Regions from separate parts of the Homo sapiens genome. Here all the other regions are linked to region 3. The links are contacts of gene promoters, found by promoter capture Hi-C in human tissues and cell types (Jung and others, 2019). All regions are on one chromosome and are shown on one strand. Each heading gives the region's core, a stretch centred on a gene start or on the middle of the fragment in contact. The rest is flanking DNA. Distances are from core to core; before and after follow the strand shown.

Region 1 (5,423 bases), core at 2,671-5,170, 320 kb before region 3:
GGCGGATTCCTCCTGGGATTGCATCGCTGTGTTTTCACAGCCCCTCCTCTCCCCACTTCCACCCTTTGCCTAAATGAAGTGGGCACTGCTCTCTGATTCTGGAAGGAGGGGTTGTTTCTCCCACGCCTGAGGAACAGAGGGCTGCCCCCTGCCCTGGCCACCGCAGTCAAGCAGAAGTCTCTCGGGGCAAAGAGGCCACAAGGTGGGCCCGCTTCCAGCCACCTCACCACTGAGTCACTTCCGCTCCCCAAGTGGTGCTCAGGCGCAGAGCTCTTGGGCCTCAGGGACCACCCAGGAGGACAACGGGGCCGAAGAGGGCAGATGATGGGGCCGGGACTAAAGCCCATGTCTTCGACTCTCAAATCAGTCTTCACGGTGCACCAGCCTGTGTCTTGGGCATCTTGGGGGTGGGTCACTCTTACTGGAAGTGTGGAAACAACCCCACAGGTGGCTGCTAATGGCTTGGACAAGCCAGTGGGAAGCTCCAAGGTGGGCCTATCACCAAGGGGCTGGTGGCACCTGAGTGTCCCCTTAGGGCTGCGTGTGAGAGGGGCCAGGTGCCAGCTTGGATCAAAAGAGGCAGCGGCCTGGGAGGCCCTGTCAGCTGGCCGTGGGGCAGGAGGGGCCTCGGGTGGAAATGGCTTGGCTGGCAGAGTGGGCCCTGGCACTCGGCCACCGGTGGGCTGGGCAGCCCGACTAGCGTGTTTTCTTGATCACCTTCCCCACCATCACCGGTTCTCCATACAACATCACATCACATCACGTGTTTGTTTTGAGCAGGGCATGATCCTTTGCCAACAGATGTAATTCGAAGTTTGGTGTGGCCTCTGGAGGAGCACGGGAAGGGTTCTCTGGAAGGGGCTGCCTGCCCTACTCTGCCGGGCACTTTACTTTTTCCACTCGAGTGAGAAAAATCCTGGTTCTTTACACCCCACAGATCCCGGAAGCCAATTATTTGCTGTCTGCCCTGCCATTTCCATCTCTGGTAGAGGGGCGGCTCTTCCCGGCTGCCAGGGAGGGAAGTGCTGGAAGTCAGCCCCCAGCCCCGCAGCCCATGCAGCCCCTGTGATGTTATGGGAGATCACTGAGGGGTTTCCGGAGGCTGGAGGAAAAACACACCAGCGCCGCCCTCAGGGCCTCCGTAGACAGGAATCCCGCTCGGCACATGAAGAGGCTGTGGGATCCAAGGGAAAGGAGGAGAGAGGCAGGGCTTGGCTTCCTGTATAGGAACCCACAGCACAAGGAGAGCCTGGAACCCTGCAACGTGGTGTCAGCGGGTCCTCCTCAGGCACCTCTTTTTAAATATTCATTCACACCAGCTCTTTTCTTCTCTATTTCACAGGATTTTGGCCCTGCCTCTTTTTTTAAATAAATTCTATTTTTTTAGAGACAGGGTCTCACTCTGTTGCCCAGGCTGGAATGCAGTGGTGCAATCATGGCTCATTACACTTCAAACTCCCAGGCTCAAGCGATCCTCCCTCCTCGGGCTCCGGAGTAGCTAGAATTACAGGTATCTGCCACCACACCCTGCTGGTGCTTGTCTGGAATTGGGGTGGAGCCACTCTGAGAATGTGAAACATCTCACCACCATCATCAAGGTCCAGGGCAGTGTGGCCCCGTGTAAGATGTGGTCCAAGACCTTTCTGGAGGCTTCCAGTAATGGTCTGCCCTGGGCCAGCTGACTGCAGAGGGTTCAGCTGCAAAGGTGTCTCAGTGAGGAGCAGGACTTGGGGCGAGGCTCCCCTCACTGCCTGCCAGGTGCTCCCTAGGGCTGATTATAACTTGCTTGGCTCATCCCGCAGAGCCTAGGACTTGGGGAGGCCAACGGGAAGCACAGAAAGAAGGTGCCAGAGGCAGAGGGAAGGAAGCCACAAAGAGGCAAGGTGGATTCTAGACTAGAAGTCAGGAGTCCTGGGGTCTAGTCACCCTGACTAACTGTGATTTGTAACAACTCACTTCTGTCCACAGGACCAGCTACATAATTTGTGGGGCCCAGTGTAAAAGGAAAGTGTGTGTGTTTGTGTGTTGGTGGGAGGGGATGACTTGTTAAAAAATTATAAGAATTTCAGGCCTCATGGTGGATCAAGGCTGTAATCCCAGCACTTTAGGAGGCTGAGGTGGGAGGATCGTTTGAGGCCAGGAGTTATAGACCAACCTGGGCAATATAATAAGGCCCCATATCTATCAAAAAAAAAAAAAATCCATGCATGGTGGTGCACACCTGTAGTCCTAGTAGTACCAGCTACATGAGAGGCTGAAGTGGGAGGATCACTTGAGCCCAGAAGTTTGAGGCTGCAGTGAGCTATGATCATGCCATTGCACTCCAGCATGGGCAACAGATTGAGTCCCTATCTCTAAAATAAAACAAAATAAAATACATTTTTAAAAAGTTCAAGATAGCACCTGCAGAGCATTAAACCAAGTGTGGGACCTTGTAGGATGGCACTGGTTGCAGAAGCCATGAAGCCAGCCCTACCTGCTTGGGCCTCAGTTTCCCTAACTATGCAATGCGGAGGCTGCATCCAGTCAGAAGTTTGTCGGTGGAGCCCTTTCTTCCAATGAACCCTCAGGCCATTCTTTGTATGAGAGACAAACAGAGCTGCTCTGGTTGAAGTAGGCTGAGAGCTCTGGCCCCACCTCTTCCACCTCCATACCTGTCAGTGGCACCTGAGAGTGTGGTTGAGAGCCCTGTAGATGATCTCAAAGGCCCTTTTCAGTTTCTACTTTCCATAAGCAGATGAGGTGGTGAGGTTCTCACTGCTAGGAACACAAGCATCTGCTGGGGGTGTTACAGGAGGATTACTGAAAGACACCCGAAATGGCGTTCAAAACCTCGGAGGTTCCCTGCCTCATGAGATAACTCCAAAGCCTGCTTCTCCTGTAGCCTCAAAATGACCTTGAAGACCAAGTAGGGGCCTAAAGACACCCAGGCCCTGGAAATGGCCACTTGGGATCATGTCTGGTTCTTATTTCCATCCCAAGAACTGGCTGCAAGGGCCACCCTGCTGCTGGCTCACCACCCTGGGGAGAGGTCAGTCCTGGCCCATGGGGCTTCCCCGGCGGCTTCCTCCCAAGGAGGTCAGAGGGTGGGTCAGGCAGGGTTCAGGGGTTGGGAAGGGCAGGGCCTGGGCTGAGGGGCTCTGACACTGCAGGTCTCTTTTGGGGAAGGGCTGGAGGTCCTGGGGGAGAATCCTAGGCCTGGCCCCCGGTTGAAAGGCTCGGTGGGGGATGCAGGGGCCTCTCTGATGGGTCCCCAGGGTCGAAATTTACACTGCTGGAAAGTTGGGCTGGTGATGCCTTTCTGCGTCTACTGGTTAAAGGGATCAGAAACTTCTCTGGATTTTAAAATTATTTGTGAGGTTAGAGCAACGGCCGATGAGAACAGGACTGCAAGGGGGGGTGTGTGAGTGTCCCCATCCTCCCTCTCCTCTTTGCTTCCTCTGGTCTTCAGGGATCCGTCCTGTCTCGCAGGATGCCCAAAAAGGCAGGGGAAAAGCCAGAGGCGCCCTGCCCTCCTCTCAGCCTCGCCTGCAGAAAAGGCGCCCCCCAGGCCCTGGGTGGAGCGGGGGTGCAGGCGGCCCCCCTCGGAGCTGCCCCCGACAGGCCGCCCTTACCTTTCATGGTCTCTTCCTCTGGGGCCTCAGGAGGGCCCCGCTGCAGGCGGCTGGAGCTGTAGTGGAGCCGGGCGGCCGGCGGATCCTCCAGGGCGCGGATCGCCGTCCTAGGCGCCGCCCGCGGCCGTGGGGCTCCGGCCGGGACTCATGCTCCGGCGCGCGGGCTGCGGAGGCGGCGGGAGGAGTGGAGGGTCCCGCGGGGTCGCAGCCTGGGGAAGCCCCGCCGGGCGCCTAGCGCCGCGCCCCGCCGCCCAGAGCGCGCATCCCGCCGCCGCCCGCGCTTCCCGCTGGGGCCCCGCGAGGTCTGCCGCCGCCCCTCGCCCCGCGCACCCTTCCTCCCTCCCTCCTTCCCGCCTTCTCCTCTCCCTCTCCCTCCTTTCCTCCCTCGCTCGCAAGCCTCCCTCCCTCCTCGTCACTTCTTGGGCCCCGGCCCAGATCAACTTCCTTGGTATTTTCAAAACTGCCGCGGCCGGCCTCTTTGTGCCGCCGCGGGGGCCCCGCGCCCCGCCTACCTCGCCCGTGCGCCCCCGCAGCCCCACAGCCCAGCCTCGAACCCGGGCTCCCGCGGCGTCCTCCCTGCCCGCGCTGCGGCCGCAATGGGGGGGCTCACCGGGAGAGCTCCTTGATCTTAGTCCATTTCACTATCGGGACCGCCAAGTGGCTGGGGCAGGGGTGGGGACCCCAGATTTTAGCCCTGCACGTTTTTCTCGCCCATCTTATGATGTCGAGGGCCTGGGAGAAGGACGTCCGGGAGAAGGACGTCCGCACATTTTAGTACTGAAAGTCCCGTGTCCAGGGCAGACGTGGAAGGTTGGCCACCCTGTGAGCACCCTGGCTCTGCCCCTGGCGAGCTGAGTGACTTTGGGCATCCAGTTCTCATCTCCAAGCCTCTTCTTTCTACATGAGAGAATTGGGCCTGGAGTGCGCCACATTCTGTGATTTATTTTTCATTTTTATTTTTTTGAGGCTCTAGCCATCTAAGCTGGAGTGCAGTGGTGCAATCTCCGCTCACTGCAACCTCCGCCTCCTGGGTTCAAATGATTCTCCTGCCTCAGCCTCCCGAGTAGCTGGGATTACAGGTATGCACCATCCCGTCCGGTAATTTTTTTTTGTATTTTTAGTAGAGACTAAAAATGTTGGGGAGGCTGGTCTGGAACTCCCGACCTCAGGTGGTCCACCCACCTCAGCCTCCCAAAGTGCTGGGATTATAGGCCTGAGCCACTGCACCTGGCCATCAAATTCTGTGATTTTGTTGGTGGAGGGGTCTCTGGGGTAAACAGTGACAGCCAAGGAAAGTGAATGCAGGCAGGGAGTTGAGACTGGTCATAAGCGCCACTCAGGATTCTCACGTGTCATTTTTCATTGATTGAACAAACATTTACCGAGCTCCCAGCTGCCGGCCAGGTCTAGGTCCGCTGTCCAATCTGCCCACCCTGCAAGCTGCCCCTGCAGGTAATCAATCAGGTGACACGGGTTTTAGAAAAGAGAAAAAAGACTTATTGGCAAGGGCACCAAGAGAGGAGGTGGGAGAACAGCTCTCAAATCCACCTCCCAGAAGATCAGGCTTAAGGATATTTATGGGTTAGGGAAGTAGAGTGGTCTAAGCCATGGGGAAAGGCAATTGGCAGTGGGGACAAATGAAGAAACAGGTTCATTCCATGCCAATGTAGTCTGAGCTAATGGTATTTCATAGGACATATATGCAGAAAATGGCAGGGTTAGCATGATCCAAGGGTGGAGTTTTTTGGCTCTCCGACATTGAAAGCCCACCTCTTGGGGCACTTGCCCAGTTGAAGGGCCAATGGTCTC
Region 2 (4,839 bases), core at 1,513-4,012, 480 kb before region 3:
TACTTCTTTGAGATCGAAGAAGGAAAAGGCCTCTTAAATAAATACACAACATAAAAAGATGTAAACTGTAAAATTAGTAATGTTGAAGGGAAAAAAAGTGCAGAGCTTTTGTAGGTGATATAAATTGTTATCAGCTTAAAATAGGCTGTTATATTATAGGATATTTTATGTAAGCCTCATGACCATAAAGCGAAAACCTATAGTAGATACATAAAAGATAAAGAAATCAAAGCACACCACTACAGAAAATCATCAAATCCCAAGGAAGACAGCAAGAGAGGAAGAAGGGAATATATATAAAACAACCAGAAAACAAAACAAAATGGCAATAGTAAATCCTTATTTATCAATAATTACTTTAAGTGTAAATAGAATATGTTTGCCAATCAAGACACACAGAGTGGCTAAATGGATAAAAACACAAGACTCAACTAAATATTGCCTACAAAAGACTCACATAGACTGAAAGTGAAGGGTCAGAAAAACGACTCCATGCAAATGGAAACCGAAAGAGAACAGGAAGTACCTACACTTACATCATACAAAATAGATTTTAAGTCAAAAACCATCAAGAGACAAAGAAGGTAATTATATAATAAAAGGGTCAATTCATTAAGATAAAACAGTTGTAAATACATATGCATCTAACATTGGAGCACCTAAATATATAAATATTTAGGATTCTGAAAGGAGAAATAGATAGGAATACAAAATTGTAGGGGACTTCAAGATCCTACTTTCAACAATGGATACATCGTCCAGACAGAAAATCAATAAGGAAATGAACTTTTTTTTTCTTTCTTAAGAGATAGGGTCTCACTATTGCCCTGAGCGGAGTGCACTGGTGCGATCATAGCACACTGCAGCTTCGAACTCCTGGGCTCAAGTAATCTTCCTGCCTCAGCCTCCTAGGTACCTGTGACTATAGGCATGCACTACCATGCCTGGCTAATTTTTGTAAAGACAGGGTCTCACTATGTTGCCCAGGCTGTTCTTGAACTCTTAGCCTCAAGCTATCCTCCTGCCTCAGCCTCCCAAAGTGTTGGGATTACAGGTGTGAGCCACTGAGTTCAGCCAGTAAACACTGAACTTACACTTCAGACCTAATGGACCTAACAGAAACACATATAGTATTCCATCCAATAGCAGCGGAATGAATGCACACTCTTTTCAAGTGCACACAGAACATTCATAGCAGTATAAAATTAGAGATCAATGACGGGAGGAAAAGTAGAAAACTGACAAATATGTGAAAATTAAACCACATGCTCCTGAACAACCAATGGATCAAAGAAATTAAAAGGGAAATTGACAAATTTCTTGAGACAAATGAAAATGGAAACACAACACACCAAAACCTATGGAATGCAGCAAAAGCAGTTCTACATAAAAAAAGAAGAAAGATCTCAAGTAGCCTAACGTTACACCTCAAATAATTAGAAAAAGAAGAATAAAGCCCAAAGTTAGTAGAAGGAAGAAAATAAAGATCAGTGGAGATAAATTAAACAGGGACTCAAAAAATAGAAAAGATTCGCAAAATGAAGAGTTGGTTTTTTGAAAGATAATTGACAAACCTTTAGCTAGACTAAGAAAAAAGAAGACTCAACTAAACAAAATCACAAATGAAAGAGGAGACATTACAACTGATTATCACAGAAGTACAAAGGATCGTAAGAGACTATGAATAATCATATATCAACAAATTAGGTAACCTATAAGAAATAAATTCCTAGAAGCATACAACCTACCTATACCAAATCATGAAGAAACAGAAAATCTAAACTAACCAATAAAAAGGAGATTCAATCAGTTTAAGAAAAAAAAAAAAACTTGCATCATAGGAAAGCCCATCTGTAATGACATCACTGCTAAATTCTACCAGATATTTAAAGAACTAATACTAATCCTCAAACTCTTCCAAAAAACTGAAGAATACCTCCAAAGTCATTTTGCAAGGCCAGATTAATCTGATACCAAAGCCAGAAAAGGACACTACAAGAGAAGTTACCAGCCAATATCCCTGATAAACAGATGCAAACTAGCACATTAAAAGCATAGTACACCATGATCCAGTGGACTTTATCCCTGGATGCAAGGATGGCTCAATACATGCACATCAATGTGTTACACCATATTAACAGAATGAAGAACAAAACTATATGATCATCTCAATACAGAAAAGGCATCCAACATCCTTTCATGATAAGAACTCTCAACAAATTAGGTACAGAAGGAATGTACCTCAATATACTAAAGGCCATATATCACAAGCCCACAACTAACATCATACTTAGCAATGAAAAGTGGAAATCTTTTCCTCTTAATCAGGAACAAGACAAGGATGCTAACTCTCATCATTTCTATTCTACATAGTTCTGGAATTCCTCGCCAGAGCAATTAGGAAGAAAAAAGAAAGGCATTCAAATTTAAAGGAAGAAGTTAAATCATCTGTTTGCAAATGACATGAACTTATGTACAGAAAACCCTAAAGCCTCCACCAAAAAAACTATTAGAATAAACAAATGCAGAAAAGGTGCAGGATACAAAATCAACATACAAAAGTCAGTAGTGTTTCTATACAGGAAAAACAAACTATGATCTATCTTAAAAAGAAGTCAAGAAGACAATCCACTTATAATAGCATAAAAAACCCCACTTATGAATACATTTAACCAAGGAGGTGAAAATCCATACACTGAAGACCAGAAAACACTGATGAAAGAAGATGAAGAATATCTACATAAATGGAAGGATATCCAGTGTTCATGGCTTGAAAGAATTAATATCGTTAAAATGTCCATACTACCCAAAGCAATCTACAAATGCAATGCAATCCCTATCAAAATTCTAATGGCATTTCCACAAAAATACAAAAAACAGTCCTAAAATCTTGTGGAACCATAAGAGATTCCAAACGGCCAAAGCAATCTAGACCAAAGAGTAAAGCTGAGGGGCACTGCACTCCTACTGGCATTAAAAAACACAGCAGCCAATGGAACAAAACAGATAAAATAAATCCAGGCATTTAGAGTCAACTGGTGTCTGACAAACATGCCAAGAACAAACAATGGGGCAAGGACACAGTCTCTTCAATAAATGGTGTCGGGAAAAATGAATATCCACAAACAGAAGAATAACATTGGAGACTTATCTCAAACCACATACAAAAATCAACTCAAAATGGATGAAAGACTTAAAATGAGGGACCTGAAACTGTAAAACTATAAGGAAAAAAATGAGAAAAAAGCTTGACATCGGTCTGGGCAATAATTTTTTGGCTATGACCCCAAAAATGTGGGCAATAAAAGAAGAAATAAATGTAACATCAAACTGAAAAGTTTCTGCATAGTACAGAGTGGATAAACACAAACTAACCAACCTACTGATTGGAAAAAAAATTTGTGTATACAATAGGGGATAATATCCAAAATATATAAATAACCCAATACCAAGAAAACAAATACTCTGATTAAAAAATGGGCAAAGAACCAGAATAGATATTTTTCAAAAGAAGACATACAAATCAGGAACAGACATATGAAAAAATGCTCATTCAACATTACTAATTCATCAAGGAAATGCAAATTAAAACAAGATCACCTCACGCCTGTTAGAATGATTACTATAAAAATGCAACTACCATATGCAGCAATCCCACTTCTGAGTGTATATCCAAAGGAACTGAAATCAGTATGTTGAAGAGAAATCTGTACTCTCATGTTCATGGCAGCATTATTCATAGCCAAGATATGTAATCAACGTTAAGTGTCCATCAATGGATGAATGAATAAAGAAAATGTGGTACATATACAGGTGGAATACTATTCAGCCTTTAAAAAGGAAATCCTGACATTTGCAACAACATGAATGAACCTGGAGGACATCATGCTAAGTGAAATCAGTCAAGCAAAAAAGAAAAATAGTGCAACATCTCACTTACATACTGAATCTAAAGAAGTTGACTTCATAGAAGCAGAGTAGAATGGTGGTTGCCAGAGGCTGGGGGAGTGAGAGATGGGAGAAATGGGGAAACGTTGGTAAAGGGTACAAAGTTTAAGTTCGCATGAGTAAGTTCTGCAGATCTATTGTATGGCATGACTGCAGCTAATGTATACTTGAAAATTGCTAAAGGCCGGGTGCGGTGGCTCATGCCTGTAATCCCAGCAATTTGGGAGGCTGAGGCAGGTGGATCAGGAGGTCAGGAGTTCAAGATCAGCCTGGACAACATAGTGAAACCCCGTCTCTACTAAAAATACAAAAATTAGCCAGGCATGGTGGCACGCGGCTGTAGTCCCAGCTACTTGGGAGGCTGAGGCAGGAGAATTGCCTGAACCCAGGAGGTGGAGGTTGTGGTGAGGCGAGATCGTGCCACTGCACTCCAGCCTGGGCAAAAGAGTGAGACTTGGTCTCAAAAAAAGAAAAAAAAAAAAAAAAACAAAGAAAAAGAAAATTGCAAGGAGAGTAGATTTAATGTTCTCATCACAATAAGTTGGTAAGTATGTGAGGTATAGCTATATTAGCTTGATTTAGTCATTTTACAATGTATACCTATATCAAAATATCACATGTACACTGTAAATATTTGCAATTTTTGTCAGTTATACCTTAATAAAGCTGAGGGGGAAGGAAAAGGCCAAACTGATCACTTATACTGGCAAAAATACAAAAAAGCTGCTTTTCTCTCCAACTTCTAATAACACAAGGAGAAACTACATGTCTTCTAGAACATTGCTAATTAGTACCTAAATTAGATTCTAATTAAGGGATAAGTAATGACTATTTTGCCAAAAATATTAACCTTCACTAAGCCACATGTTTAAAAATTTCAGTTTATAGATT
Region 3 (5,605 bases), core at 2,402-4,901:
GGCTCTGTCACCTGGGCTGGAGTGCACTGGCACAATCTCGACTCACTGCCACCTCCCGGATTCAAGCGATTCTCCCACCTCAGCCTCCAGAGTAGCTGGGACTGTTAATGGTGGAGGGTGTCCAGGTTATTGGCATCTTGAACAAAGAATTGGAAAAAACGCACAAACTAAGCAGGGAAGGCATGAAGGGTTTTATGGAAAATGAAAGTAAACTCCACAGTGTGGGAACCGGCCTGAGATAGGGGCTCAAAGGCCCCATTACAGAACTTTTGGGGGTTTAAATACCCTCTGGAGGACTCCATTGGTTACCTGGGGTACGCCCTATGTAAATGGAGAGGATGAAGTAAAGTTACAAAGTTATTTACTTGGCCTACGCCCTATGGGGAGGATATTTGCTGTCGCAGCTGAAGTGTGAATTGGCCTTATGTTCCCTGCCTCCAGACCCTATTTTCCTGCCTCAGGCTATAGGCGCACACCACCACACGCGCCCGTTGTATTTTTTGTAGAGACGGGGTTTTGCTATGTTGCCCAGGCTGGTTTTGAACTTGTGAGCTCAAGGCCTTCTTCGACCTCCCAAAGTGCTGGGGTTACAGGTGTGAGCCACCACTGGCACCTGGCCCGATCCGCCATGCCTGGCCTGATCATAGTTTTATGTGACATGGGAGCCTTCAGAATGAAGACCTAAAGATAGACTGGAAATGGCTCATTTTCATGCTTAGGTTCAGCAAAGTATGAGTAGCTGTGTAGAAATATGATTGAACAAAAGGGTATGAGCTAATGTTAATAAACTGAGTGGGGAACCTAGGCCTGTCTGTCTAGATTTTTCTTGGCCTCTACGAACATGCATTTCTTCCTTCCAGGTATGTTACAGGTAGTTAGACAGGCATGAGCAGGGCAGGAGAGGACTCTACCCTCCCCAATCCCCTCAAGCAAGAATGCCAGGTGATGGTTTCACAGTTATCACACTGCCTTTCTAAAATGGATAATTTGGCAGATGGGCCAGAGAGAGGGAGAGAGACAATTCCCTGATGGTCCACAGCTGTCACTAAAGTGTTACTTGATGTTAATTGATATTAAAGCAGGTGCCAGGCATAGGCAATTTCCCAAACAGATAAAAACACTTGAGATTGGTAATCAGCTTCCAATAAAATTTCAGAAATTGGGTGAGTGAGCTTGGGCATGCACATTAAGAGACAAAATAGTGGAGTATGACCTTCCGGGGGCATTCCACTGGAAAAGGGAAGAAAGCCTCAGATGGGCATGTGTACAAATTCCTAAGCACATGGTGCATGCTCACCTCCCAAGCATAGGGAGGGCACTGTGCATTCGGGCAGCTCACACTGAGGGAAGAATGAAGGGAGAGGGCAGCAAGACTCCAGAAGTGGGCCAGCATATGAAGTCCCAGGATCAGGGTTAAATGCCACACTTGTCCCTCAAGTTGCCCGCTTGGGTCTCTTCCAAGTGTACTTTCTTTTCTGTCCCAAACTTTTTAATAAACTTCCACTCTTGCTCTGAAACTTGCCTCAGTTGCTTTTTCTGCCTTATGCCCTGTATTAGTCCATTTTCACATTGCTATAAAGAACTGCCTTAGACTGACTGGGTAATTTATAAAGGAAAGAGGTTTAATTGACTCACAGTTCCGCATGGCTGGCGAGGCCTCAGAAAACTTACAATCACAGTGGAAGGTGAAGGTGAAGCAAGACACCTCCTTTGCAAGGCTGCAGGAAGGAGAATGAACACAGGAGGAATTACCAAACACTTATAAAACCATCAGATCTCGTGAGAACTCACTCACTATCAGGAGAACAGCATGGGGGGAAAACCACCCCTGTGATTCAATTACCTCCACCTGGTCTCTCCCTTGACACGTGGGAATTATGGGGATTACAATTCAAGATGAGATTTGGGGTGGGGACACAGCCAAACCATATCATGCCCCTCAGTCTAATTCTTTCTTCCAAGGAGGCAAGAATTGAGGTTGCTGCAGACCCATACAGATTCACTGCTGTTAACTCAGACACCTTCTACCCCTAACAGGTATGGGGTAGGACCCTCTCTGGAATCGGGCTCTTATGGCCTACAGTCAAACAAGGTAGGTCAGATAATTTCTTTATGGCCAGTTATTCCACAGAAAGGCAGAGAGAAAGAGTAATATTTTAAGGTTTCAAGACTGGCTTTAGGAAAAAGGGGTTCTGGTTTCTATGACCTGCCTTGGGGAAAAGGAATTCTAATTTCTATGGCTATCCTTGGGGGACTGAGAGATAGGAGGGCAGAGAAAAATTTCTGCTTTTGAGGCCATTTTGGGGTATTGTTTTCTGAGTTTCAACACTAACAAGTTTGCATGCCAAAATTTCATGAATACTGCTAAAAGATGAAACTCCTGGGTCAGAGACAAAGGATAATACTAACAGCAATAATAGTAGTCACAGTATTGTCATTGGGCCAGTTTCTGAGCCCTAATTCTTGCAAGACTATGTGATGAAGGCTACAGTAGGTTGCATTACAGGAGAGGGGCCCCAAGTTTAGGAAACTCACATCTCTTATAATTGGGAATAAGTCTGCCAGATCTTTGGAGAGACAAGAATTCTGTCTTCCAGGGCTATTCAATGCAGAAACATCCTTGAAAAGATAGTTGGAAAAAGGCAGTCAGTGCCTCTGCTCTCTCAAGACATGCAGGAACATGACACATGTGAATTGTCTCCCAATAGAAAAGGAATGAAAGTGCATCGTGTGAAAAGTATTCTGCATCTGGAGGCTGTAAAGTGATCAAACTGAAGCAGGAATGAAGATCTGAAGGAACCATCCAGGCCTACTGTACCTGGCAAGAATTGAGCATGAACTCTAGTTATCTCAGCTAAACTTTGCAGAAGTCCTCAATTTCACTGTTTTAATGGGCACTTGCCCATTAAAACAGTGGTTGTCATGAGCACTTTCCACATTTATTTCACTTTATCCTCACACTTCATGGAAACAGAGCTATTACAGCCATTGTACTCATGAGTAAATGGACTTTGAAACATGATGACCTGTTCACTTTTTCAACCACAGGACAAGAATCAGGTTTTCTCGGAGCTCTTCTGCCGCCACCCCTCTCTTGTTTCTCCTTACCGCGGCGGGCCAGAAGAAGACTGGCCAAAATAAGTAAACGACTAATGCAAGAGTGGCATAGGTCCTCAAAAAGGCGCTGCAAACTTAAGTGGTGATTGCACTCACGGTGCTTTAAGACCCAGCCACTACTTCGGAAGCAGGAAGTTGGCATCTCTGGTTTCTCCCATCCGCGGGCCTGAGGTTCCCGGGGATTGGTTAAGGTAGAGGCTCCTTTTCCCATTTGCAGCCGGAAGTAGGTTTCCAGTAACACGGAAGCCCTACTACGCCGCCTGGGAGACCCTTCCGTGCTACCCCGGCCAGGGACCCGCCCGGACCTGAGGAGGCGGGAACTGCGGGCAGAAGGCCCACCCCGCTCTCCCAAGATTTCCCGCGCACACCGGAAGTGGGTGGGGCTCCTCCGAGCGCCCCCTCCCTCCCCCTCGCCATCCCCCCCGCACGATTGGCCAGCGCCGCTGTCTCTCAGCGTTCCAGGGGAAGGGACTGGGCGATTCCCAGCACTCGGGTCGCGGGCGTTGGCAGCCGGGCGGGTGGGAGGGGCCGGAGCAAAAGTTCCGGGCGCCCGAGCCGGCTGCTCGTGCCATGGAGCGGAGTCCCGACGTGTCCCCCGGGCCTTCCCGCTCCTTCAAGGAGGAGTTGCTCTGCGCCGTCTGCTACGACCCCTTCCGCGACGCAGTCACTCTGCGCTGCGGCCACAACTTCTGCCGCGGGTGCGTGAGCCGCTGCTGGGAGGTGCAGGTGTCGCCCACCTGCCCAGTGTGCAAAGACCGCGCGTCACCCGCCGACCTGCGCACCAACCACACCCTCAACAACCTGGTGGAGAAGCTGCTGCGCGAGGAGGCCGAGGGCGCGCGCTGGACCAGCTACCGCTTCTCGCGTGTCTGCCGCCTGCACCGCGGACAGCTCAGCCTCTTCTGCCTCGAGGACAAGGAGCTGCTGTGCTGCTCCTGCCAGGCCGACCCCCGACACCAGGGGCACCGCGTGCAGCCGGTGAAGGACACTGCCCACGACTTTCGGGTAAGAGCAGCGATTTGCACGAGGCGGCCGAGCCGGGTCTGGAACCCGGAATCCCTTGGCTCTGCGGCTCCCGCCCCTCCTGCCTGCCAGAGCCCAGTGTGCCCGCGTCTCGCTCCCAGCATGCAGGACCCCACCTCTCCGACCCAGGTTCTCAGGGCTGGCTGCTTCTTCAAGGTCGGCCCAGGGGCCCGTGCTGGGAGAAGAGAATGCGAACGGAAAGTGACAGATGAGGTTACATGATGTTCCCAAGACAGCGACACTTGCTTCTGAAGGGCCCAGGCCATGCACCCCTTGTGCCAGCCGGGTGTGGCCCAGGTCCCTTTAAGCGGCACGGATGTGGGTGCAGCCCACGAGCCCTGTAGCTTGGCACACTCAATTTAGAAGTGGAGGAGGAGCCACAGACCTGGCCAGGGGTGTGGAGTCTTAAGATTTCCCCCAAACCAGTCACCTACTTGCCAAGCTGATCCCGCGGTTTGTATTATCTGAGTGAGAGGTCTCTGACCCTGGCTGGCTGGCCTATTCTGGTTTATAAAGCAGCATCTCCATATCTAGAGTTCTAGTGACTATACATAAACCCAGGAGCAACTTACAGGGCAAAACTAACATGGAGAATTCTTTGATATAGGAAGGAAAAATGAATAGAAGATAAGGGTTAGCCTAACTCAGCATTTTCCAAAACGTTTAATCTTAGCCCATAGGAAGCAATGCATTTTCCCTTGTGACCCAGAACATATGTATCAGTTGAAACAAAAGTTTTCTGAACATGTCCATGGCACTCTGATATTTTCTGTTACTTCCCTTTGTTTTTTTTTTTTTTTGAGACCTCTATCGCCCAGGTTAGAGTGCAGTGGCGTGCTCTTAGCTCACTGCAACCTCCGCCTCCTGGGTTCAAGCGATTCTGGTGCCTCAGCCTCCCGAGTAGCTGAGATTACAGGCATGTACCAACACGCCTGGCTAATTTTTTTTTTTTTTTAATTTCTAGTAGAGGCAGGGTTTCACCATGTTGGCCAGGCTGGTCTGGAACTCCTGGCCTCAAGTGATCTGCCCTCCTCTGCCTCCCAAACTACTGGGATTACAGGCGTGAGCCACTCCGCCTGGCCTCTGTTACTTTTAAAAATTACCCAGAATGTGAAACATTGAATTTATTTCATCACCTGCTAATGCATGAGTCAGAGCCCCAATTGGGAGAACACTGGGTAGCTGGCCCGAAGCTGCATGGACTGGAGAGGAGGAGCTGCCCGAGTCCCCTGTGCCTGGTTTCTGGCCCCCTCTGTGGCCCTGCCTTCTTTTTTTGCAATACCTTTTTAAATACGGAAGTCTGTTCCGCTCCAAATGCATTTGACAAAGTTTAATTGAAGGGGAATGTAAGGATGCTGTCAGTACGCATGTCTCAATGAGTAACCCTGTTACTCCTGTCATCTTTTTTGTTTAACATGGGTCCATGTCAATGCTTTTCCTGTTTCCACTGGCAGAAGTGACAGAT
Region 4 (5,223 bases), core at 1,663-4,162, 260 kb before region 3:
TTTAATAGACTCAGTACTGGGGAACGTGGACCACAGACAGCATGGGTGGGAGTGTATGGGGAAAGTCCCAGAAAAGGATGGATTTTTACTCAATTCTTGATCAACTGATCATTGAGTCATCTTAGATTGAGAGTACTTAGTGGACCCTGGGGAGCTAAAACTGCCTCAGACAAGACTTCCACCCCCAAGAAACTGACCATCCAGCAGGAAGAGGGAGGGACAAATGCCAGGAGGAGGTGACAACATTCATGAGCAAAATGGGCGTGACCAGCACATCCAGCCAGGAAAGTCCAGCATTGACTCTGATCCTAGAATCCACACAACCCCACAGAGCCTGGGCCCGGTGTCCGGCATTATCTCCCGAAAGAGTCAGAGGTAGAACTGCGGGTTTCTCTCTCTGAGGCTGTCTGTAAAGGGCAGTGAGACAAAGGATCTCTGTGCAGTCTTCCCTCTCAGCCTGACCAGAGTCCCAGGAGGACAGCGGAGCTCTCATCCACCACATGGGTGAGGAATCCAGGTCCCAGAGAGGCTGGTGGACTTGTGCAGAGTGACAGCAGGTTGGTGGGGACCAGATGGTCTGACTCTGGAGATGCGATCCCCCCTGCCTCGACTGCTACACTGAGGGGTCAACCCTCCTGATGGGTCTCCTGGGGCGCTTCCAGAACTTAGGGTGGAAGATCCACTGTAGTGATTCTATAGACATGTGTTAGATGGAAGGAAGGAAATGGGAAAGGAAAGGAAGGGAATATAAGGGAAGGAGAAATGGCTGAAGAGCTGAATCTTCAACCCTAATTACATGCACAGGAAGCAATCACCATGCCTCCTCGTCCAGGCGTCTGTGCGCCTCACAACTTCCTCCCGTGACTCAGGACCCACCTGCCTGGAGAGCTTGACTGTCAAGAGAGCATTAGGAGATATACCTAATGCTAAATGACAAGTTAATGGGTGCAGCACACCAACATGGCACATGTATACATATGTAACAAACCTGCACGTTGTGCACATGTACCCTAAAACTTAAAGTATAATAATAATAATAATAATAATAATAACAATAATAATAATAATAAAAAGAGAGCAGCTCTATGCTAAACAGAGGACCTGGGGCTGGGGAGCTGTATGCATCCCAGAGCAGCCCCTAGATAAGCCCACATAGGAATTTTCTGATTCCTGACTTAGAAATCTATCCTTCCCGCTCCTTTATGGAGTTGTTTCCTTTGCGGGAGCAAGGCCTGTGCTGTGTTTGTCCATCTTCAGCTTAGCTCTCCCTACTCCCGCCCCTACCCCACCCTGGTGCATCCCAAGCACTCTCAGCTTCTCACAGATGCCCTTTACAGGCTGCTCTGAGTGGCAAGCAAAAGGCAATTAACTACAGAGCTATTTATTGCACACACCCCTTGCAGTGAATCACAGGGCTGAAACTGCCACCCACCCTTGGTGGCAGTCCTTGTTTATGGCCTGCCAATGGAGGTGGGGGGTGGTGGTGACAGAAACTAAGGATGGCCTCTAAGACTGGTGCTGGGTCTGCAAAGCAGGGTATGGCAGCAGCTGCCACTTCAGGGCAGGGAAGAGAATCCATCCAGAGTGCACTGAAGCACAGATGAGTGAGCAGGAGAGCAAAGTCCTGCTCCATAAGCCCCCTGGGATGAACTGGGGTCACCAGTGGGGACTGCAGCAACATTCCCAACAGGGTTCACGTCCTCCTCAGGGATAGCCCAAGAACTTTCACCAGATCCTTGAAGGAAGAGAAACAGTAATGCAAGAGATGGCCTTATCTCTAGGGTGGAGCAATAAGGTTGGGGGGACAGTTTTGCATCCAAGTGCTGTGCTGGCTTATGGAATGTCAGAGCTGAAAGTGACCGCAGGGAATTAACCAATCCAATCTCACTGTTAAAAGACATAGAAACTGAGTCCCCAAAAGTTGGAGGAACTTGATCAAGGTCACACAGAGTCAGCAGAACAGCAGGGCTTGGGCACCTGCCTCCCTTCCCAGAGTCCTTGCCGTTGCACCTTGCTGAGAGTTTTTGGTTGTGCAATTGTGTGTGGGTGCACACATGCATGCAATTGTGTATTTTGTCTTCTTGGGGGGGGAGATTATAATTGCTATTTCTCATGCATCACAGCCTTCTAAAGTTAAATAAATTGGAAATTTTGGGAAGGTAATCTATTGCCTAAGAGTCACTTTGAGTTTTCAAGGATGTCATGTTTAAGTGAGAAGCCTCCATGTTGAGATGACCTGGAGGCCACAATCTTGAGCTCCGAACACAGAAAGGTCAGTTGTGTGTGTGTGTGTGTGTGTGTGCGCGTGCGCGCGCATGGCAGCCCAAGCTTAGGCTCTGACAGAAACAGGACTTAGCTGTAATCAATCTCAGCCCATCTCAGCCAGGTCAAAGAGAGGGCGGAGAGAGGGTGGGCAGGTACCAGGAGACCGTCCATCTTCCACCCACCTCTAATATCCTAGCAGGAGAGAGGGGGCCAAAGCCAATCCTCTGGCAAAAAGAAGCATCCCTTTATCTCTGGGTCAAAACATTCAGCTTAAAGATTAATAAATTCTGATCTGAGTGTGAAGTAGAAAAGTTGATTCTATAACTAGGCAGGGTTTTGGCACCTTTCTTGTTGAAAGAGGTCCTGCCACCCATCTTTTCCTGGCTTGTGATGGTCATTCACCCCTCACCCTGCCCAATGCCCCACTCCAGCTGTTCTCACAGAGAGAGGTCAGCAATGGCTGTGAATAATCAGCTCCGGGTGTGGGTCCCTGATTCCCTGCAGCATTGACGCCTCCATCCTGGGCACCCAGCACCATTGCTTCCAGAGCACCGCCCTCCTATGGTCCTCAGTCTTCTCTCACCATCCCCTTTGTTTCCTTCATGGCAGCCTCTGCGTCCTCTCACCCGTGGAATGCTCCTGTCCTCGAAGGCCCTCTTGTCACCCAAACCCATTCTCCCTGGGTGTCCCCTCCACTCTTGCGGTCACTTGTCTTGGAGCTGATGACCCTTGTTATGGCCTGAACTGTGCCTCCTCCAAAGTCCTACGTTGAGTTCCTAACCCCTGGCACCTCAGAATGTGACTGTCTTTGGAGACTGTGTCTTTAAAGAGGTGATTAGGGTTCAGTGAGGTCATATGAAGGGGCCCTAATCCAATGTGACTGGTGTCCTTATAGGAACAGGAGATTAGGAACATAGGCACACAGAGAGATGACCATGTGAGGACACAGGAAGAAAGTGGCCATGTGCAAGCCAAGGAGAGAGGCTCAGGAGAAACCAACCCTGCCAGCACCTTCACCTTGAACTTCTTACCTCCAGAACCACAAGGGAATAAATATCTGCTGTTGAAGCTGCCCAGCCTGTGGTATTTGCTATGGCCTCTCTAGCTGGTGAATATGACATCTCAATCTGTACCTCCAGCCCCTGAGTTCCTGAACTTCAAAGCAGCTGCTCCGACACTTCCGCTTGAGACCCCTCGAACTCAAGTTCCCAAAGGAAACAATCACCTTGTTGCCCCTGCCGAGCCTCCTGGATTCTCTACTGATGGTGGCCCCATCATCCTTGACTCTTCCTTCCTGCCACCTCACCACACACTCAGCTGCCGAGTCCTGTTGGTTCCTCATCCTAAATACCTCTTGAACATGGACCCTGAGAAAATGGACTTGGCTCTGTATTCCAGCCCCTAGGATCCTCTCCAGGCCATGCTCACTCTGCCCAGCCTCGTCCACACCTCCTTCCCATGTTCCGGACTTGAGGCATGGTCTTTGCCTCGGCCGTCTCTGCCAGGCTTGAATTATTTCTTTAGCTCCTGGGTAGGCCCTCTGCACTGGATACTGCCTTCAACTTCAAGCCCCAAGGGCAGGCTGGCTCCTCTGCTGGTCCTGGAGGCCCAGCTCTAAGGCTGAAGTTCCTTCACGAGTCCACGCGCAGAGCTTAACCTCAGTGCACAGACCAAGACGGGCTGCTCTGGGACCCCTCGCTGCATGCTATTTCCATAATTCCCTGTATGTTAGAAACCGTTTAACTGAGAAAGGCTGGTGTACTTGGTTCAGAGACAGCAGGAATGAGCCAAGCAAAAGACCTATTATCACTTCTGCAGCCAGTCCAGTCCAGGCCAGAAGGACCCTGAAGGGCAGAGATGACGGCAGGAGCTGCTGAGGGGGAGAGATGCAGGCTGTCCTGGAGGGGACTGTTGAGGAGAAGAAAGGGTCACTGGGCTGCCCAGCACAGGCCTGACAAAGGTCCCTCCCTGGGTTGCACCTCTGTGGGAGTCCCTGCCACATTCTGCTGCATAGCCAGGAGGGAGCGTTCACTCCTGACAGGCAGAGAGGGGAAAGGCCACGATCAACAGAGGCATGAGGGCTGGAGGAAAATCTCTTCCGTCTTCATGGTGGGAGCTCAGAATGGTATTTCATGGCTCTCAAGGTGAGCCCATGGGTCATATGAGCCCCAAATGCCAAATCCACAATCCCTCTCAATCAGCATGCCTGGCACTGGGCAGAATATGAAAATGCCTTTTAAACCCTGTTTGGTGTGAACAAGTGGCCTTGGTGAACCCCTTGGCACTGCTCTGAGGGACTGTGGCTGGTTGAAGCACACCCAAGGTCACCCCAAAAAGCTCAGAGTCTGGGACGGCTCCAGGTGGAGCCGTGTGGGCCAGTGAACATCCAGCCTCCCTTCCTCATTCCAGTGTCCTCCTCCCTGCCCCTTTCCTCACGGGGCTCCCTGGCTCAGGCATGCCTTTTCAAAGCCCAACAATTCTACGGAATGCTCTTGTCCTGAACTTGCCCCACTCTCTTGGGCTAAGACATCAGGCATCTCATTTGCTGAATGATTTCTGCAGGCCCAGCATTGGCACCTCAGGGATCCATGCTGTACCCCGGGAACTGTGGAATCACTTTTTCAACCACCAGTTGGGAGTTCTGGGTAAAGATTTTCCCCAAACTCATGCCTCTGAGGAGGGGGCTTCTGGAGTGAAGGTCTTTGCCCCAAGTCTTAAAGTATTAGAAATTCCAGTGGGAAGGATTTTAGACTGGGGGCTAGAAAACAAGTTTCTGTTTGTCACCTACTGAGTGCCATGCGGGGCATGTTTGAACACTAAACTAGATGCTTTACATGTATTATCTGGCTTAATCCTCAGATTCAATACTTTAAGGTAGACATTATTAACACTCTCCGTAGATGAGGAAACTAAGGCTCAGCAGGATTAAATGACTGGCACACGCTCACAGCTTAGGAA
Region 5 (5,676 bases), core at 2,971-5,470, 420 kb before region 3:
CTCACCCCCCTCCCACTCTTCCCCCTAAGTCCCCAAAGTCCATCGTATCATTCTTACGCCTTTGCATCCTCATAGCTTAGCTCCCACATATCAGTGATAACATACAATGTTTGGTTTTCCATTCCTGAGTTACTTCACTTAGAATAATAGTCTCCAGTCTCATCCAGGTCACTGCAAATGCTGTTAATATATTCCTTTTTATAGCTGCATAGTATTCCTTTGTGTGTGTGTGTGTGTGTGTGTGTGTGTGAGTGTGTGTATACACACACCACAGTTTCTTTATCCACTCGTTGATTGATGGGCATTTGGGTTTGTTCCACAATTTTGCAATTGTGAATTGTGCCACTGTAAACATGTGTGTGCAAGTATCTTTTTTGAATAATGACTTCTTTTCCTCTGGGTAGATACCCAGTAGTGGGATTGCTGGATCAAATGGTAGTTCTACTTCAGTTCTTTAAGAAATCTCCTTGCTGTTTTCCATAGTGGCTGTACTAGTTTACATTCCCACCAGCAGTGAAGAAGTGTAAGTGATACAGATGTTTTATGATCCAATTTAGAACGTGATCAGTTGATTTTTAAGTTAAAGGCAAGTGTTTATGTAATATAGGACTTAAGTTTTAATTTAGCATATACAGGTTCATCAAGAAGAATAATTACTGTAATTCCAAAACATAGCCCCAGACAAGTGGGGACTCTGCACATCTAACTCACAGCCTTTATAGGGAATGGCTTACTTTCGTTGATGACAACCCAGACTGTCTTACTGAGTTGTTCATCCTCAGTGTTTGGGATCTAAAGCTGGCATTTGAAGATACTAAATGACTCTTTCAAACATTGCTACTGCTTTTATTTCAGATTAAGACTCTGGGGCAATCATAGTCTTTGCGCCTGGATATAACACAATCATTAGTCTGTTCTTTGTACAATTATCGAAGGCATTTTTACCTTGGCTTCAGTTCATCGTGCTAATGGAAGAGAACCACAGAGAAAACCACTAAGTGAAGTTGGAGCTAAAACCAGACTTCACAGGAACCAATGTTTTCTACCCATATCGTATTTCTCTACCATCTTTAATAAGGGCCATTTAGATAAGCCTTAGTCTGATCCCTTTCTCTAACAATGCTGGTGTTAAGCAATGGGAAAGAGAAAAAAGATAAAACAACTGTAGTGTTCAGATTGTGACATTGGCAAGCAAATCAGAATGCACACTCTTAGTGAATGTTGTCCAAAAAGGAGTCAGGGCTCTACCTTTGTGTGTGGCCTTCAGGACTTGCTTGTAAGCCACACAATAAAATCAGTCCCTTTGTGCTGTATACCATTATGCAGGTTTTTTAAATTAAAAAATGTGGCAAACCAACTAAGTTGGTAAACTAGCCTATGTTTGACTTCCTGATGGCCTTTCCTATTAAAAAAGAAGAAGAGATCAAAGCCATGTTGTGAAGTCACAAATCTGTGACAATGTTGAGGCTCAAATTACTGGAACTTAGGCCAGAATCAGTTTGCATATTGGCAGAATTGTTGGCATGAGGACATTGAGGCAGTGTTTGCTTGGTACATTTGTTGAAGGATCTGTCATGTTTTCTTACAGTCACATTTGTTTTGCACTATACTAGGTCAGGTGGGACTTACTGCATTATTTAGAGATCAGTGGTCACTTACTGCTGTGTAATCAGGCCATGTAATGACACCTCACAAAATATAGCTGTTAATTCAGCTATGTCAGGAAACTGACAACTTAAGGCGGAGAAGTGATGAGTCAATTTAGTTATTTTACTTTCTGAACTCAGTGACTGAGATGAGAAGGCAGCTCGCTAATTAAGATAATTGTAAATTTTAAATATTGAATTATTTTCAAGGCTTTTATGTTCTCATTTTTGTGTTTCCTACAGGATGGCAATGATTCAGATGAATTCATGTAAAAGGAGAAAAGGAGAAAAGGACCTTTGAAAGATGTGAATGTAGAGACAATTGCAGACCTTTTGGTTTCATCTGTGTTCTGAAATATAAAATACAACCAAAATTCTACCTTCATCCTACCCAGAAATTATTGATTTTCAAGTTTTAAAAAAATTGTACCTTTTTTGCTGACAGAAAAGGATCAGATATGTATAAAATAGTTGAACTTGACAGCATATAACTTAAAGTGAAAATGTTTTTGCCAGAACATGTCTTGGTACCTTGTGAAAGCAGGCTGCCCTTGTTCTTGAGATAGACTTTAAAATGAACCAGCTCTGAAAAGTACTTCTGCTGCTCTGGTCTATCCCTGAAAACAGATGTCTTGAAACACTTTTCATATTCTTAAAATAATCTTCACTTCTGTTAAGAAGAACATGTTGGTGGGTAATTATGCGAATGTTTCCCTGTCCCTGATTTCTCGATTAGGCGTATGGGTTTTGAAAAAGAGATTTTTCAGAAGATTGTCAGCTTCAGTATTCATGTTCCATCGTGTCATCTGGGTCTGTTAGTGTAGTGACCCTCAGTGCAGTCTGTCCCAGCGTTTACGTCCTTGCTTCCTCTGAGCAGAGGCCTCCATCTTAGTATCAACATATTTAAAGAAATTGATGGTGTTCATCAAGCTGGGGCCTGTGGCAGTTGTTGCCTGAGCACCAAGTAACCCAAGCCACCTATGTGACAACTTCTGGGCCCAGGAGTAATTTCTCAGCATTGAGGGTAAAATAGGATGGAGTGCTCTGTTGATCATTTGGGAGATGTAGGTTACCTGATTTGTGCCTTAGGATGCAGCGTGAAGCAGAAGTCCATATTGCAATTATGATTTTAGAAGGAACTAAGCATTTTACTCACACCCACAGCAGCAAGAATGACCTCCTGCAGCAGATATTCCACCTGTAATAGCACTTTGGAACTGTGGGCAAAACCAAAAGGCTAGTGTTTCCATTTATTCCATGTTGGTGTATGGGGTTGAACTGGAAAATTCCCTGAGGCAAAACTCACTGGCCAAATTTTGAGAGGGTATAGAAAATGACTTTAGAGATGAGTGGTTTTGTGTATGTGTCTGATGATATTCAGTCTGATGTTCCGCAATTTTAAAAGTTATAATAAAATACCATTTTTTTAATCTGGAAGGACATTGATATATGAATTCTTAGAATTTGCTATTAAAAAGGGTAGCCCCCATTCCACAAGCTGGTTTTGAGGGTGATCTTGCTCTAAAAAACCTCATTCATCATAGGCTCAGTCTGACAGGTTCTGTACGGGGCTATCATCTTTCTCCTCCTCTGCTAAATGCCTCTTTCTTCCAGCTGCTCACTGGGTCAAAGGGATGTCCTTTCTCAGATGTATTCTTGATACATCTCAGATGTATTCGTAGCTGTGCTCCTTCCATACTTCCAAGGAGTCCGGCTTCTACAGAATTCCTCTGTACCTCACACTGCAACACATGTAGATAGCGCTTTTGAAAAATACATATATTTTTACTATAGTATGAGAGGTCCTGGGGCTCAAACTTTAAACATTTCCTAACTCAGCTTACACTGGTTTAAAATGTCCAGGTCTCTGCTGAATTCTCTTGTTGAATTCATAGCTCTGTGTTGATTCCTATGCCCCTAACCCTGCAGCCTCTTTGTTTTATTTTTTTCCCCATCTCTGTTGGTCCCAGGGAAAGCAAGGAAATTTTCTTTTGAGGACTTATAGGTTGATTGCCCACAGGTCAAACTGTTGGCATTGAACTCCTCTCATTTCTTGCCATTGGATTGTTTCCTAAACGTTGGATAGGAGAATTCGAAATTGTTGCTATTTTTATGAGCTGTGCCCTTGATCAAATCTGTGCTGTGGGTCTGAGTCACTTTGCCAATGTCGTCTTCAGTTTCAACACTCTGATCAGCATGCAGGCGAGGGGCATGTTTAATTTACTTCACTAACTGCTATATTCTATAGCTTTAGACTTCATATTTCTTATCCACCTTTGTCTAGGCTCACGATCTTTGGGCAAGGGAGCTTTGTCACCGTGGTTGGGCTAGAACAAATATTGAGAAGTTTACCAACACAGATGTTGAGAAGTTTATTGAAAGGCACTGACATTAGCAGAATAAGTGATGGACATTAGTTGAACCCCTTCAGTGTCTATGTGTTTTATTGTATTGTCTTTAACTCGTTCTTGAAGCACAGATTTCAGCGAGCCTTTCAGCTATTCAGTGCCAGCGGTTTTCCCCACTCAGGAAAGATGGTGTGAGCCATACACACAGCAGGATTAGACGGGGAGAGTTTCAGCTGCAGCTTCTAGTTTAAGACCAAAGCCCTTCCTCCCGCTGCTGCATCTGTCTGAGAGGGGAAGCTCTTGTTTTCCAAGCTGGAACCGTTTATGAGGAAAACTGAGCAGGGTGGCAAAATGGAAAAGGAACAATTTTCTAGTTTTTCCTACGCGTGATATTGACGCGTGCTTTTTCTTTGATTTGAGGTACAGCATGTAAATAACAAATTTCCATATTCAAAATGATCATATTAGAGTGACTGAGTGACCTTTTGATTTTGAAGCAGACTAAAATCTGACCAGACCACAATGAAAAGTATAAAATTAGAAACTTAAATTCCAAGCTAAATTTCAGCTTTGACCCACCTAACTCCAGTGAATAGGTGGCAGCTCAGAAACAAGGACAGCACTGCTGCTGCCAGAGCAAGCTCACATCCAGCTGGCACTTCGTGAGAGCTCCTTCCTGCCGGGCACGTGTGAGTTCAGCGTGGGCAAGAGACTTTTATGCACATTCTGTCATTCAAAAGGGAAATGATGCCAACCCCAGATGCAGCATGTCCTGAATGAATGATCTGTAAAATACAATAATAAAAGCTTATAGTTTGAGTAGAACTGTGTGTGTGAGAGAGATTTCACTTCTTATTTTCTCCTGCAAGTTCCAGTCTCACTGATGGGATGTGCCTGCTTGTTTTAGGCAAGTGGGGAGACGGAGGTACTTGGCTCCCCATGTGATGATGCCTGCCCTTCACACAGTCACAGCAGGAGGAGAGGAGCAAATCCTAGTAAAGGGAAGGTCGCCCAAGAATTCCAGGAGGAGGATTGAAGAACCCAGAGCTGAAAGGCCACAATATTTGAACACTAGTACTTGGAGTTTACAGCTTGACCCTCTGCTCTCCCAAAATTCCTGGGGGTCTGCCTGAAATTTTGGCCAAGGCAAGCCTGCAAATGTGAAGACTTCCTGGGCGGTTTCATGGATGACTGTAGGGCTATGGGTTGTGTTCTGTTGATAGATTTTCACCTCTTTTATGATAGAGTTTACACTATTGTGAGAATGCTTGCAGGGAGGTTTTAGGCTCAGAGGAGCCACACAAACATACAAGTTTTTCTCCCAGCTGTAAAAGCATATTTGAATTCTTAAATGTTTACCAGAGCACATTTGGTTTGCATTTCTAGTCAGGGCAATACCTGCATCCATTGGTTTTAACTCCCTTAGCTGCTAGTGTTCTGGGGTTTAAATGTTTAAGTAAATTAGTCTATATAGGGAATGTAGTTTGAATCCAGAATTTTTATACAGAAAAATTTAGAGATGTGTGTATATACTAGGTGACTTAGCAGTGCAGTGAAAATACAAATACCTACCCAATGCCATCTTTTAACCTGGGTTTATCATTAGATTATACATACCTCTTTTTCTGTCTTAAATTGATTGCTTAGTTTTGTCTTTCTGATTTCATTATTGTGTCAATTTT

Evidence for each region. The method cuts DNA at HindIII sites, captures the fragments that hold promoters and counts their contacts. A contact is called where the count stands out against the background at its distance.
Region 1: a contact is called between the fragment with the promoter of SCARA3 here and the fragment with the promoter of TRIM35 in region 3, in 3 of the 25 tissues and cell types used here (liver, neural progenitor cells and thymus).
Region 2: a fragment that was not itself captured here is called in contact with the fragment with the promoter of TRIM35 in region 3 in 2 of the 25 tissues and cell types used here (bladder and dorsolateral prefrontal cortex).
Region 4: a fragment that was not itself captured here is called in contact with the fragment with the promoter of TRIM35 in region 3 in 3 of the 25 tissues and cell types used here (aorta, lymphoblastoid cells and spleen).
Region 5: a contact is called between a fragment that was not itself captured here and the fragment with the promoter of TRIM35 in region 3, in 1 of the 25 tissues and cell types used here (adrenal gland).

What each region holds. Positions count from the first base shown.
Region 1 is chr8:27,632,399-27,637,821 of GRCh38, reverse strand. It overlaps SCARA3 (scavenger receptor class A member 3), which reads right to left and starts at 3,920. Exons shown (of 6, transcript NM_016240.3): 1 at 3,615-3,920. The coding sequence starts at 3,621. RefSeq lists enhancers at 2,628-3,456, 3,457-4,286. The HindIII fragment of the contact is 21,622 bases long and covers 1-5,423 here.
Region 2 is chr8:27,793,076-27,797,914 of GRCh38, reverse strand. All of the region lies in intron 9 of ESCO2 (establishment of sister chromatid cohesion N-acetyltransferase 2), which reads right to left. Among named protein-coding and RNA genes, the nearest start is that of ESCO2, 21 kb to the right of the region's middle. The HindIII fragment of the contact is 5,983 bases long and covers 1-4,839 here.
Region 3 is chr8:27,309,318-27,314,922 of GRCh38, reverse strand. It overlaps TRIM35 (tripartite motif containing 35), which reads left to right and starts at 3,651. Exons shown (of 6, transcript NM_171982.5): 1 at 3,651-4,122. The coding sequence starts at 3,688. It also overlaps a transcript of PTK2B not described here. RefSeq lists a silencer at 3,433-3,642 and enhancers at 3,793-3,942, 3,953-4,172, 4,573-4,682. The HindIII fragment of the contact is 16,679 bases long and covers 1-5,605 here.
Region 4 is chr8:27,570,669-27,575,891 of GRCh38, reverse strand. No RefSeq gene overlaps it. Among named protein-coding and RNA genes, the nearest start is that of MIR6843, 37 kb to the left of the region's middle. The HindIII fragment of the contact is 5,720 bases long and covers 53-5,223 here.
Region 5 is chr8:27,732,459-27,738,134 of GRCh38, reverse strand. CCDC25 (coiled-coil domain containing 25) reads left to right here. Exons shown (of 9, transcript NM_018246.3): 9 at 1,890-4,819. The coding sequence ends at 1,919. It also overlaps a transcript of SCARA3 not described here. Among named protein-coding and RNA genes, the nearest start is that of MIR3622B, 34 kb to the right of the region's middle. The HindIII fragment of the contact is 4,166 bases long and covers 2,138-5,676 here.